Regions from separate parts of the Homo sapiens genome. Here region 2 is linked to region 1. Evidence: promoter capture Hi-C in human tissues and cell types (Jung and others, 2019). All regions are on one chromosome and are shown on one strand. Each heading gives the region's core, a stretch centred on a gene start or on the middle of the fragment in contact. The rest is flanking DNA. Distances are from core to core; before and after follow the strand shown. Region 1 holds the start of NOG (noggin). Region 2 overlaps ANKFN1 (ankyrin repeat and fibronectin type III domain containing 1).

Evidence for each region. The method cuts DNA at HindIII sites, captures the fragments that hold promoters and counts their contacts. A contact is called where the count stands out against the background at its distance.
Region 2: a fragment that was not itself captured here is called in contact with the fragment with the promoter of NOG in region 1 in 1 of the 25 tissues and cell types used here (spleen).

What each region holds. Positions count from the first base shown.
Region 1 is chr17:56,592,303-56,595,001 of GRCh38, reverse strand. NOG (noggin) reads right to left here and starts at 1,303. Exons shown (of 1, transcript NM_005450.6): 1 at 1-1,303. The coding sequence starts at 778. The coding sequence ends at 80. RefSeq lists a silencer at 2,241-2,450. The HindIII fragment of the contact is 21,510 bases long and covers 1-2,699 here.
Region 2 is chr17:56,154,891-56,157,589 of GRCh38, reverse strand. All of the region lies in intron 1 of ANKFN1 (ankyrin repeat and fibronectin type III domain containing 1), which reads right to left. Among named protein-coding and RNA genes, the nearest start is that of ANKFN1, 2.8 kb to the right of the region's middle. RefSeq lists a silencer at 356-562. The HindIII fragment of the contact is 5,131 bases long and covers 1-2,699 here.

The DNA.
Region 1 (2,699 bases), core at 54-2,553:
GGAACTGGTTGGAGGCGGTGCAGGGGGCGTCGGTGGGGATCGATCAAGTGTCCGGGTGCGGGCAGGGGGCCCCCGAGTTCTAGCACGAGCACTTGCACTCGGAAATGATGGGGTACTGGATGGGAATCCAGCCGCAGCGCTGGCCCCCGCGCCGCTGACAGCGCCACCGCAGCACCGTGAGGTGCACGGACTTGGACGGCTTGCACACCATGCCCTCGGGCACGGAGCACGAGCGCTTACTGAAGCAGCTGCCCACCTTCACGTAGCGCGGCCAAAAGCGGCTGCCCAGGTCGTTCCACGCGTACAGCACGGGGCAGAATGTCTGCGACCACAGCCACATCTGTAACTTCCTCCGCAGCTTCTTGCTTAGGCGCTGCTTCTTGCCCTGGGCCAAGCCCTCGGAGAACTCTAGCCCTTTGATCTCGCTCGGCATGGCCCCCGACGGCCGCTGCCGCAGCAGCTGGTCCAGCTCCGCCAGGTCCTCCGCGCCCCCAGCTGCACCCCCGCCCCCGCCGGGCCGGTCCTCGGGGGGCGAGGTGGCCATGAAGCCTGGGTCGTAGTGGCCCCCGAGCAGCGAGCGCAGCAGCGTCTCGTTCAGATCCTTTTCCTTGGGGTCAAAGATAGGGTCTGGGTGTTCGATGAGGTCCACCAGGGGCAGGTTGTCGCTGGGTGCCGGGCGGATGTGGAGATAGTGCTGGCCGCCGGCCGGTGTCGCCCGCAGCCCCAGGACCACCACCAGGGCGTAGAGGGTGACCCCTAGGCTGGGGCAGCGCTCCATGCCTCTGGCGCGCGCCCGGGGCTGCTGCTTCGTCCCGCGTCCCCGGAGGAGAGCACGCCGAGCCCGCGGCGCCGCCGCGCTCCCCCGTCTCTCCGGAGGCGGCTCACCCGAGGCTGGGCAGGCGCAGGGCCGGCAGCATGAGCCGCCGGGAGAGCCCTTCGCGCAGCGCCGGCTCCCACCGGGGCGGAAGAAAGGCACACAAGTTGGCCGCAACTCCTCTCCCGGGTCTACTGGGGAAGGCGGCCGCGGCTGGGCATCCGAAATTACTCCAGGGCGACCGCGGGGCGCGGGAGGCGCCGGCTCCTCGCTGCCTTCCCGGGCCGGCGGCGGCGCAGGGCGCGTGGACGAGCCGCTCTCCCCTCCTCCTCTCGCTGCTCTTCGTCCGGCCGCTCTGTGCAAGCGCCGCTGGCTGAGCTGGTTCTAGGGGCACTTCCCTCCGCCTGCTCCGGGCTCCGCGGCCGGCTCTGCCCGGCGGACTCCAGCGGCGGCGGCGGCGGCGGCGTCCGCGCACGTTGGCACCGGTTTGTCTGTCTCGCAGGGTCCAAGCCTTTAAATTTCCTGCACTTTCAGCTCCATCACCATGGAAACCACTGACTCTCTCGGCGTTGCCCCCTCCCCCTTCTTCCCCCCAAACAACAACCCCACCCCCCACTTCTCCACCCCCGAGGAGCTGGAGCTGCACAGGCTCCGGGGGAAGCCGCCTGTACTCGCCGCGGAGGCGGCGGCGGCGGCTTCGGCAGCGCCCAGGGCTGTGCCCCGCCGGACCCAGATGCCCCGGGAAGCCGACAGTCCGGCTGCCCGCCGGAGCTCACAGGCGGCGGCGGCGGCGGCGGCAGCGGCGGTGGCGGCGGCGGTGGCGCTTGGCAGGTCTCCGCGCAATTTTCTCTCTCCCCCACCACCCACCCCCCTTCTCCTCCTCCTGCAAAATGCACCGCCCCCCTCCTTTCTCCTGGAGCAATGCAACTGGGGCTCTAGGCGCCCCGCCAGGGCCAGTCCTGGGGAAAGCTCGCGGCGGCGCTGGAGCCGGGCTGGAGGGTGCAGAGCCGGTGTTTGGGGAGGGGGGGCGGTGCTTGAGGTGGGGCTGGAGGGTTTCTCACTAGCTGGGTGCTTTGCACTGGGAGGGGAGCAGCGGGGAAGTGCTGGGGGCTCGTTTCTCGGTGCATGCAGTTCGGAGCAAGAAATTTCTCCATGTGCATGGAGCGTTTTCCCCGAGCGCGTCTTCTTCTCTCCCGGGCTCTTGCTCTAAGTCCCCTCCCCCCAACACACATATATACACACACACACACACACACACACACAGCCCCTACCCCACCCCCCTTTGCACCAGGGAGTCCGAGAGCCGCAGCGTTGCGCAGCGTGATGTAATTCTTAGGAAGCACTCCTGTCTGTCTGCCCCTCGGGCCCACGAGGGGGTTCCGCTCCTCACCATCCTCCTCCTCCTTGGCCGGGTCCTGCACCCTGAGTGGCCTAGCCTCAGGGGCGCGACTGGCTCGCCTGCGGCTCCCCTAGCCCGCCCGGCTCCGCGCGGCCGCCGCTCGGCTCCCTGGGGGCGGCGCGCCCTCTGCTGGCCCGCTATGAGCCCTGCACCTGGCGCTGGCGGGGGCGGCCGTGCGAGGTGGGTCGGCCGCTGCCCGCTCTGCCCAGTTCAGCTTCTGCTTCTGTGTCCCTGTCACTTTGTGTGTGTCTGCGTCTGCTGACTGGTCCGTTTTGGTTCTGGCTATTTTCCCGAAGGTCTCCAGGCCCCCAGTGTAAACAAACTTCCTGAGATTCCTTCTCGGTCCCCTCAAATTTCACAAGAATGCGTGCAGCACCTTCTGCCTCAGGTAAATCGGTCTCTGGTCTCAGTGGGTGCGAGTGGGGACCAGAAACTTGAAAGGTGAGCTGACAGCAGAGGCACCTGAGTCTTGCCCGGGGTCCACCC
Region 2 (2,699 bases), core at 90-2,589, 440 kb after region 1:
AATAGTCCCTGGTAAGACGCCATAGTCCACACATACTCCTAAAGTCTCGAGAGAGGAAGGAGGAGTCACCAGGAAGATCCATTTGCATCTGAACTGTGGTCTCTGGGAATAAGCAAGCATTGTTTCCCAGTGTGCTAATGATGGTCATCCGAGGGTATAAAGTGATGAGCAGCCCTGAGGTCCAGCTAATCCCTGATAGGTGTGTCCCAGAGAGACCCACTCAGCAGTGCACATTCAAGTTGTGGTGGTCAGATAAAGCTGCTGCATTGCTCATTTCCTGAGCCCTCTACATTCCTCCTCACCTGTTTTAGATAGCTGTCTCTGAGGTCTGAAATAGTTAAGAGCAAGTATTTGGGATTCCCTTCTTCTCTACCCAGGTACCATGCCCAGAGTCCCCATCCTCTCCCTTTGCTGTCCCCTGCCAGGTGACCAGTGTGTTTCTGCTGGCTCCCAGTGGCCTGAGATCTCTCACTGCAATATTCTACCAGTACAGTGCTCTCCTCAAAAGAACCTCTGAATCCCACTGTTTTGGAGACCTAGAGAGGCCAGCCTTTCCTATTTGGTAATATCTAAGCTAAATACAATAAAGCCATGCCAATTAAGGGAGAAGAATGGTGTAGATGGGGGGCTGGCAAACTTTTTCTGTAAAGTTCTGGCAAGTAAATATTTTGGCTTTTTGGGGCTACACTGTCTTTGTTGTAACTAATCAACTCTGCTGCCCTGGTGTGAAAGCAGCCACAGATAGTCTATAAATGAGTGAGCATGGCTGTGTTCAAATAAAACATTATTTATAAAAACAGAGGGCAAGCTAGGATTGCCCTGTGGGGCTGTAGTTTGCTAACTCTAAGCGTAAAAGAAAGAACATGAGGCAGGAACAAAGAACCTGGCCCCTAGACACAGCCCTGACCTTAACCAGCTGCAAGACTTGGCACAAGTCACCTTACTCCTTCCTTTTCCACCTCCCACGTTCCCAAAGGGAGCAAGGTATAAAGAGGATAATATATGAAACCCACCATGCATCTTACGTTTCCAGTTGTCTTGCTCATCTGTGGCCCATAGTGCAAAGGTCATGGGATTAGTTTGGACAATAACACTATCATTTTAAGCAGCTGCTTTGAGATAACATATGTAATCTCTCTGCTTTCATCTTCACAACTCATTGAGGTAGATAATGTGGTCCCTCTTTAAGAGGTGAGGAAACAGGCTGGGCGTGGTGGCTCACACCTGCAATCCCAGCACTTTGGGAGGCCAAGGTGGGTGGACCACTTGAGGCCAGGAGTTTGAGACAAGTCTGGCCAACATAGTGAAACCCTGTCTCTACTAAAAATACAACAACAAAAAAATTAGCCTGGAGTGTTGGTGCATGCCTGTAGTCCCAACTACTCGAGAGGTTGAGGCATGAGAATTGCTTGAACTCTGGAGGTGGAGGTTGTAGTGAGCCAAGATTGCACCACTGCACTCCAGCCTGGGTGACAGAGTGAGACTCTATCTCAAGGAAAAAAAAAAAAAAAAAGAGTGAGAGAGAGATGAGGAAATGGAGAAGAGGGAAGTTAAATAACTTGCCCAAATTACACAATAGGTCAGCCTCAAGATCAGGATTCAAATCCAGGCCTATCCAACCACATCCAAGTTTCCCAGACACCATGTGACTTCCCACGTAGGCTGCTTAGTTTCCAAGCCCTTCACTCTAACCAACCACTTTGCAGATATCATCTATAGAACACTATCCTCTGCGCATTTGCTGGAGTGATCAGATATAATTATTTCTATGTAAAAATTTATCCAATGGCTTCCCATTGGTCCCTATCATGACCTACAAGGCCCCTGTGATCTGTGTCATCTCACTCCAACCTTCTGACCTCTCCTCTCTGCTTCACTCTGTTTCTGCCCCAGGCACCTTGCTTTGCCTTAAGACATGCCAAGCTGACTCCCCAAATCAAGAGCCTCATACTTACGGGGGTCCTCAGACTCAAGCCAGTGCTATTCTCCCACTGTAAGCACAGCTTATTCCTTCACTTAATTGGTGCCTCAGCTTAACTGTCACCTCCTCAAAGAGAACCTTCCTGACCACGCTATCCAGAAAAAAGGAAAGTTATTGGCTTTCAATAATTACCTGTTGATTGTCGAATAAATGAAAGACTATATTGGAATGAAGAGACAGAGCGTGGCTGGCTTAGGACCAGCTGCTTGGCACATTCCAAGGGCAGAGATTCAGACCTCTCAGCAGTGAGAAGCCTTGTCTCATGGAAGAAAGGTAGCTTGCTTGCCTATATCAGAACAAATGACAGTACTGCTTTGTGTCATCTTCAAAAGTACCTAATACAGGAGAGGTGACACAAAACTGGGAGAGATAAGTCTCATGACTCTGAATAAATGTCAGAGTTACAAGGGACCTGAGGAGTCCTCTAAGGTCCAGCATTTTCCAGCTTCCAGTCTCTGAGCCACTTTTTGCTCTACTTCCTCCTCTGTCTGCCATGTTCCTTTTTGCAGCAGCTGTTCTTGACCAGACGGGCCTCCCTCTCCCAAACCCTCCTATCCCCCAGGGTTGAGGGGGGCATGAAGGCTTTAGATAACTACTTTTGTTGGGAAAACACTGTTCTCGTTTAAACTCTGTCACTTCATGGATGAAGAAACTGAGTGTTAGAGAACTGAAATAGTATGGTCGAAGTTCTGCCACTAATTAGTGTCAGACCTGAGCC